3 separate regions of the Homo sapiens genome follow, and regions 2 and 3 are each linked to region 1. Evidence: promoter capture Hi-C in human tissues and cell types (Jung and others, 2019). All regions are on one chromosome and are shown on one strand. Each heading gives the region's core, a stretch centred on a gene start or on the middle of the fragment in contact. The rest is flanking DNA. Distances are from core to core; before and after follow the strand shown.

Evidence for each region. Contacts are between HindIII fragments. The study calls those that stand out against the background at their distance.
Region 2: a contact is called between a fragment that was not itself captured here and the fragment with the promoter of DISP1 in region 1, in 2 of the 25 tissues and cell types used here (IMR-90 fibroblasts and mesendoderm cells).
Region 3: a contact is called between a fragment that was not itself captured here and the fragment with the promoter of DISP1 in region 1, in 2 of the 25 tissues and cell types used here (mesendoderm cells and thymus).

What each region holds. Positions count from the first base shown.
Region 1 is chr1:222,813,591-222,816,332 of GRCh38, forward strand. DISP1 (dispatched RND transporter family member 1) reads left to right here and starts at 1,449. Exons shown (of 9, transcript NM_001377229.1): 1 at 1,449-1,488. RefSeq lists an enhancer at 840-899 and silencers at 1,140-1,219, 1,310-1,409. The HindIII fragment of the contact is 9,383 bases long and covers 1-2,742 here.
Region 2 is chr1:222,893,996-222,896,831 of GRCh38, forward strand. All of the region lies in intron 1 of DISP1 (dispatched RND transporter family member 1), which reads left to right. Among named protein-coding and RNA genes, the nearest start is that of DISP1, 80 kb to the left of the region's middle. The HindIII fragment of the contact is 8,490 bases long and covers 1-2,836 here.
Region 3 is chr1:222,698,234-222,701,051 of GRCh38, forward strand. The region is part of intron 2 of AIDA (axin interactor, dorsalization associated); the gene reads right to left. Among named protein-coding and RNA genes, the nearest start is that of AIDA, 13 kb to the right of the region's middle. The HindIII fragment of the contact is 6,571 bases long and covers 1-2,818 here.

The DNA of each region.
Region 1 (2,742 bases), core at 199-2,698:
TCCTCATTTTCTTCTACTGTAATCCTATCTCCATATATTGCAATGTATGGCCTTTTGCTGGCAAAAGGAGAAAAAAAGAAAAATGTATGTATTATACCATTCCTTTTTAAAAAGGCAAAGAAAGGGCTTGGTGTGCAAGAGAGTATTTATTAAACACTGGTAGCAAAGAAAACAAACAAAAAATGCAACAGTCCTCATTACTGTAGCTGGTGTTGAAGCTTCTTTCTTCTGGGCCCATTCCATAGTTCCCTGTGACTTCAGTTAGCATCTCAGTTGGTTGGGGTGATTTGCTCAATGCAGCAACCTGAGGGGTATGATCCCTTGTGGTCCTGCCTTTATAGGGTTGTGGTAGCCGTCTATTGCCTTTACATCTGGGTATGGCAGTTCAAGAAAGCACCCTCAAGGATAAAACATGCTATTCATGATGTATTATTTTTCTTTGATGACTAGGACAATCCCCCTAGTCAACCCCATGACTCACTGTTTTGTCTATTCCCTTAGATGACCCCACGGATTCCGTTGCACGGAGTCTCTGAAGTCCAAAATTTTTAAGCATAGGGCACAACGTTCTTCATGATTTGGCCTTGTCTCTTCTCATTATGCTTGCTCTTGCATCTGCCATCTGACACTTTGCTTAACTCCTGGCCAGCTACCGGTACAAGCCAAGCTCTCACTCCATAACGTCCTTCTTCTCTGCATGCCCTTCTCCACTGTGCCTGTCCTTTAACTCTTATTCATCATTTATTTCAGTCTCAATTGAAGAGTCATTATTTCTAGAAAGCCTTCTCCGCCCAGCTCTCTACATTGCACCGTTCCCTACAGCACCACCAGAGTGCCTCTAACACTTGATGGTTTCATTGCTTATATATTTTTGTTTCTGTGCATAAGCCTCCCGAGGGAGCCGCCGCTGTTCGATTTATTCTATAGCTAGTTCCTCGCCCTGAGTGTAAGCCTCACGAGAGTGGGGCTGTCCTCTGTTCGCTCTATCCCCAGCCCCTACAGCAGTGCCTGGTTGTTCACAGGCCTATATAGCAGGTGATAATAATCTGAATAATGAAAGAAGAAACACTGTCTTGTGGCGTGATTTACTTCTGTTTTTACTTATGTCAACTTTTAACTAGATTGTGAGGACAGAGGTCAGTGTCTGAGTCATCTTGTGCCTCACTGGGCTTGGGCAGAATAGACGCTTGGTCAAGCATTTGCACACTGGTCGATGGATACACTAGAAAGAGCAGGAGCGCGAGAGGGAATTTTTTTGGCGCCTGCCTCGCCCTTTCAAGCCAAGCCCCTCTGCCCTCTGCCCCTTGCCAGCCGCCCGTCGCCCGCCGCCGGCGATCCCTCTCCCGGGGAGCGGTAGTCAAGCGAGGCCAGCGGGCCGGGAGCGGGCCGGGAGCGGGCGAGGGGCGGGACTTCCGGTCCCGCTCGCGACGCGGACCGCGCCAGGCGGAAGCCCGGCTCCGGGCCAGCATCCGAGAGCCCGGACTGGAGGTGAGTTCGCAGCCGGAACGTTGCAGGCACTTGTTTCCTCAGTGGATGCCTTTCGGCGCGCCGCCGCCCGGCGCCGCGGGACTGGGAGACCGGGTAGGGACGGGAGAGTCGGCATCTCCCGCGCGTGTGGAGGGAAATCCGGGACCCCAGGCTTGAGAGAAGGGCCAGGACTGAGAACGGGGAACCAGGAGAGCCCTAAGGGCAGCCTTTAGGGACTGAGGAGGGAGGCACCGGGGACCCTGAGGCCAAAGAGGCCCTGAGACTGGAGGTTGCGGATGACACGGGGCAGAGTTGCATCTCGGAGGAAAGTAGTCATTCGTGGGGGCGTGTCCCGGGTCCTGGCGGATTGACTGAGAGGATGGCAGGAGATGGCAAAGGTTGGCTTCCAGGGAGAGGTTACAGAGGAGGGAGTCAGTCCTTCTCTGAGGGTCGTAGGTGAGAAGGACGTCTTGACCTAACGAACCAGAAAGATGACCAGCCACCTATTGGATGCTGAACTCCTATTGCTTCATTTGCAATTCATGCAGTTTGTTTTTTGTTTTTAGAAATATATCCCGCTCCGCGCGTGTGGATTTCGGGAAAATATTGTATATTCCTAGGGACCGCTCGAATTCTTGCTTCACCCAGATTCTGCGTGTCTTTGTCAAACTGATAGTAGTTGAGAGTTCTCTTCACCCAAGGAAGACAACCAAAGTTTTCCTTTTGGACTCTTCTCTACCCTGCAGAGTTTAGCTTGTCTTATTTCCCTTGTCATGGGATGAACTAAATGCGTTCAGAATTATGGTGATAATCACATGGAAAGCCAGTGCTGTCAATGTTTGCAGTTTCAACTCATTGTTTTTCTGTCCAACTTTCTAACACATTTTTTCTAAAAGCTATTTTGTTGGGTTTAGTCTTTTAGTTTAACCAATAAAGGCAATTTTACATCAGGGTGCAGCAAATTACTAGCAGTTCTTAAGATTTTACTGTTCCTTTTTATTTCTGCTGTAAGGAAATATATATATATATATATATATATATATATAAATATTTGCCATTGTCAGTGTTTTTTAAAAATATTGATAACCCAAGATCTGTTGTTACACGCACATTAGCACATTTAGTTTTCCCCAGTGGCCAGTGTTTGGTATGTGGGCTCATTATTATTACCAAAGGTAATTATTGATTTAGTTATTATTTACCTTGCATTTATGTTTTATTGGATGTGATTAATATGTGCTTCCTAATCTACATAATATAGTGTTTCACTCAGTG
Region 2 (2,836 bases), core at 191-2,690, 80 kb after region 1:
GCAGGTCATCCCTACAAGTTGAGGAGACGTGAAGTGGGTAGTTCCTTCTCCCAGCCGGTAGTCCCCATGTCTGTGTGAATCTGACTGGGTGGGTGGTTATGGGTCTCATAAGGCAGGAAGTGTGTACTGGTTGATCCATGGTTGGGCCCAGAAAAAGCTCCCTAAGTTCTCACTCCCGGTGCAGACTTCACCTAGAACTGACAGCCCGGTCCCCAGGCTTCAGGCCGTCCCTGGCTTGAAGGTGGGGCTTCACCAGGGACCTACCCCTTTCCACCCAGGAGCCAGTCTGCCTCCTGACACCGTAAGTCACTTTAGTCCATCGCGCCCAGGCTGTTCCTGCAGAGAGGCACCTGCAGGCCAATGCTGAGCCACCCTCAGTGCCCCCTCGGGCTCCCTCCCATACTTGTAGGCACCCAAAGTCCAGAGGGGACTGAGGCAGCAGGGGGCTGGAGTGTTAGCACTGCCTCAACTGTGCACACACCCGCCCGGGTTGCGACAGCGCCTGGACTCGGCTTCAACTTTGCTCCCAAATCAGAGCGAGTGCTGGGAGCAGGGAGCAGGGGGAGGCCAGGCAGCAGGAGCAGTCACTTCCAAGCCTGTGGGGGCAGGGGGCTTCTCGGGCCCCCAAGAGTGCAGAGATGCCTGGGTCCGCAGCCATGGCTGGGTGGCTGTAGCTGCGCCTGGGAGCATGGGGCTCCTGCTTTGCCAATTCGGAAATGGGTGGGGCTCCCACCTGTTCCCGCTCCCGCTGGCTCCCTGGAACAGGCACCACGAACCCGGCTGTGCCTCCCCTGCTACAGCCGGCGACGCTGCAGCGGCTGCTCCAGACGGGCTGCGGGTGCCATCATTATTATTTTAAAACACATAAATAAATATTTGAAAAATACAGAATAACCTACGAGATTGAGAATTCTTGTAGATTCCAATTTATTTCCTAAAGATTTAGAAACACCACCTAAGAGATTGATTTGACCCAAAGGCTGGGATTAAGGACCCACAGGTAGAAAAATAAGCATCTGAGTAGGGACACCCTTTCTTCTTTCCTTATTTTGGGGGAAGGATTTCAGGATGGGTAGAAATACAGATGCATTTGAAAATCTAGAGAATAGTCTCAGTTTTCTTTCCAAAGGAGTACACTCACATTTCTTAATTGTGATGGGCAAAGGGCAGGGCTGAGATACCAGAGGTAGGTTGTTATGGTTTGGAACAGCTGACCAGGGATGAGCCTAAGGAGATACTGTCCAGTTGAATGCTCAGCTGAAGTTATCAGGGAAATTCTGAAAGGCTCATTAGGAACCTTTTGTAGACCTTGGTGCTTTTTTGCCACTGTACTCTTTCCAAGTAGTTAACCGAATACCAGTCAACTTAGAAAATAAATTCAACACATTTTACTGTTAATTTGGCTTATATTTATTGTTTTAAGAATAACTGATTTTTTAAAAAAATGATGAAATACAAACTTCTGCCATTTATCTCATCATTTTTCGCAATCTGTGATTTTCTTTTCCTTTGTGAGGGAATGCTGGGAATACATCAGTAGTTGCCCAGTTCTGACTGTTTATAACAAACAGAATAATTAATGTACATTTTATCTCTTTAAAATAACATGATTGATAAACAGATCAATGGAACAGAATAAAGAGTCCTGAAAGACTCACACATACATGGCCGGCTGATTTTTCAGCAAAGGTGCCAAGGTAATTCAATGGAGAAGGATCAGTCTTTTCCACATATGATGGGTTAACTGGATCTCTTGCAGGTGGAGAGGGAAAACTTGATCTCTATCCCACAGCAAATATAAAAATTTTCTAAAAGTAGATTATAGACCTAAATGCTGTAAACCTAAGGCTATGAAACTTTTAGAAGAAAACATAGAGAATCTTTGTGACCTTAGGAAAGGCACAAAGATTTCTCAAGATTTTTTAAAAAGCCTATTCATAAGATTTTTTAAAGTGTTGATAAATTGGACTTTATCGTAATTACAAATTTCTGCTCTTCAAAAGATACCATTTAAAAAATGAAAAAGCGAGGCTACAAGGTGCAGTGGCTCATGCCTGTAATCCCAGCAGTTTGGGAGGTCCAGGTGGGAGGATAGCTTTACATCCAGGAATTCGAGACCAACCTGGGCAACATAGGGAGACACCGTCTCTACAAATGAAAAAAATTAGCTGAGCATGGTGATGCATGCCTGTGGTCCCAGCTACCGGTAGGCCGAAATGGGAGGATTTCTTGAGCCTGGGAAGTCAAGGCTGCAGTGAGCCATGATCCTGCCACTGCACTCCAGCCTGGGTGACAGAGCACAATCCTGTCTCAAAAAAAAAGAGGCTGGGCGCGGTGGCTCATGCCTGTAATCCCAGCACTTTGGGAGGCCAAAGCAGGTAGATCACCTGAGGTCAGGAGTTTGAGACCAGCATGAGCAAGATGTTGAAGCCCCGTCTGTACTAAAAATACAAAAATTAGCTGGGTGTGCTGGTGGGCGCCTGTAATCCCAGCTACTCCGGAGGCTGAGGCAGGAGAATTGCTTGAACCCAGGAGGTGGAGGTTGCAGTGAGCTGAGATCGCACCATTGCACTTCAGCCTGGGTGACAGAGTGAGACTCTATCTCAGAGAAAAAAAAAAAAAGGTAAAAAGAAAAAGCAAGGTACAAAGTAGGAGAAAATATTTGTAATACAATGTGTGACAAAGGGCTTGTATCTAGAATGTTAAAAGAACTCTTACATGGCAAACAACTTTTAAGAGGTGAGCAAAGATTTGAAAAGACACACAAAGAAGATATACAGATGGCCAATAAGCACATGGAAAGATGAGCATCATCATTAGTCATCAGGGAAATTAT
Region 3 (2,818 bases), core at 117-2,616, 120 kb before region 1:
TTTTCATACTATTTATCACCAATTAATAAAGTTTAGAGATCAGTAGTTCTGCTTTAGAGCTTGTTAGACTTAAAATAAATATCGTGAAAATGAATATAAGTTACTCTCTCAAAAATGAGAATTTATCTAAAAAACAGAATTAATCGTCTTAAATAACAATCATATGTGAATAAATATCAACAACCTAAGACAACAGAATAGCATTTATTCATCAATTTTTTTTTTTTTTTTTTTTGAGACGCAGTTTCACTCTTGTTGCCCAGGCTCGGGTGCAGTGGTGTGATTTCGGCTCACTGCAACCTCTGCCTCCCAGATTCAAGCGATTCTCCTGCCTAAACCTCCCAAGTAGCTGGGATTACAAGCATGTCTGACCACGCCCAGCTAATTTTGTATTTTTAGTAGAGACGGGGTTTCTCCGTGTTGGGCAGGCTGGTCTCGAATTCCAGACCTCAGGTGATCCGCCCGCCTCAGCCTCCCAAAGTGCTGGGATTACAGGCATGAGCCACCACGCCTGGCCCATCAAATATTTTTAAGGGCTCACTGTGCACTAGACAGTAACAAGTTTCATAAAGAAAGCACTTTAAAAATATGTTTTGTGTTTGTTTGTTTTGAGACAGAGTCTAGCTCTGTAGCCCAGGGTGGAGTACAGTGGCAGGATCTTGGTTCACTGCAAGCTCCGCCTCCCAGGTTCATGCCATTGTTCTGCCTCAGCCTCCCGAGTAGCTGGGACTACAGGTGCCCGCCACCACGCCTGGCTAATTTTTTGTATTTTCAGTAGAGACGGGGTTTCACCGTGTTAGCCAGGACAGTCTCGATCTCCTGACCTCATGATCTGCCTCACTCGGCCTCCCAAAGTGCTGCGATTACAGGTGTGAGACACCCCGTCTGGCCAAAGTATGTTTTGTTTTGTTTTTTTAATTTTCTTTCAAAGTTGTGCAAACTATTGAACGGTTGGCATAATTCTAAGATTTGCCATTGCTACAAAAACACTAAAAATAGTAAAAGCATAAAAATTCCAATTAAAAATAAAAAACATAAACAACAATTTTGCTTAGCATAATGTAAAGAACATTTTCCATTTTCCTCTTTTGAAGAAAACACAATTGAGTTTTTTCTCCTTTGGCTTGCATGCTAGGCATTTAATTAATTTTGCAGATCCAACAGTTTATATCAAAATTTCCCATAATATGTTTCAGAACACTGGACTCAATGAAATGTTCTTTGAAGGGAGACGGAGACTTCCAAAAGCAAATAAATTTTAAAATACTACATGCCCAAACTCTTTAAAATATTAAACGTACACATGTGCATACTAAAGGTCCCGAGAAGTCACAAACTCTATCTGTTCAAATAACATCTATTAATTTTTCAGAACCAATGTTCCCCAGAATACACCTGGAAGATCTGTTTTCTAATCATTTATTAACTTAGAGCCTCTGATAACTTATTCCCTATGTGACATTGAAATAAGGCCTACATGTCAGTATGGCTTTTTTTGGCCCGCTGTGAATGTTTTGCTTGCATTTTTAAAGAAAATTAAACTTTTTTTTTTTTTTTGAGACAAGTCTCGCTCTGTCGCCCAGGCTGGAGTGCAGTGGTGCGATCTCGGCTCACTGCAAGCTCCGCCTCCCGGGTTCATGCCATTCTCCTGCCTCAGCCTCCCGAGTAGCTGGGACTACAGGTGCCCGCCACCACGCTGGCTAATTTTTTGTATTTTTAGTAGAGACGGGGTTTCACCGTGAATTCGATCTCCTGACCTCGTGATCTGCCCACCTCGGCCTCCCAAAGTGCTAGGATTACAGGCGTGAGCCACCGCGTCCGGCTAAGAAAATTAAACTTTTAAAGGCATACAAATTGCCTTATATTCACAATGTAGTATACAGTGATTTGGGGTTCCTTATCCAAGTCCAAAGAATAGGCAGGCAGGCACAAGCTCTCTCTGTAGTCTCAACTGGCAGCCACAAATGCCTCCTAGGCAGGTATCATAAATAATAAATGCCTCAGAAATCAGGCCTCCAGTAAAGAAGGCAGGGCAGAACACTTCAAAGTAGAGGACATGAGAAGATTCAGGGATACTCTGAAGATCATTTAGAGTTTTCTAGTCCCTCATTTCATACATAAGAAAATTAAGGCCACAGCCAGAGCAAGAGCAAGACTCCCAGTCTTCTGACTCCAGATCTCAGCTCTCTCGTCTAGGTCATGCTGCCTCCTGGTCCTTTTGGGGTACAAGATCTGTGGGTCGGGCCGGGCGCGGTGGCTCACGCCTGTAATCCCAGCACTCTGGGAGGCCCAGATGGGCGGATCACGAGGTCAGGAGATCGAGACTATCCTGGCTAACACGTGAAACCCTGTCTCTACTAAAAATACAAAAAATTAGCTGGGCGCGGTGGCGGGCGCCTTAGTCCCAGCTACTCGGGAGGCTGAGGCAGGAGAATGGCGTGAACCCGGGAGGCGGAGCTTGCAGTGAGCCGAGATAGCGCCACTGCACTCCGGCCTGGGTGACAGAGCAAGACTCCGTCTCAAAAAAAAAAAAAAAGATCTGCGGGTCTTTGCAACCAAAGATAAGCTGAAAAAAGACAGTGGCCATGTGGCTGCTAAGGAATAGCTATAAATTTAAAACTAAATAGCTTTATCAAACACCAGCTTCAGCCTTAGAAAGTTGAAGAAAATTAAGAAAAAGTTAATTTTTTCTCATCAGTCTAATCATTATACGATAGACTCATTTCTTGATTTTTTTTGGGGGGGGGGGGACAGGGTCTCACTGTGTCGCCCAGGCTGGAGTGCAGTGGCATGATCTCAGCTCACTGCAATCTCCGCC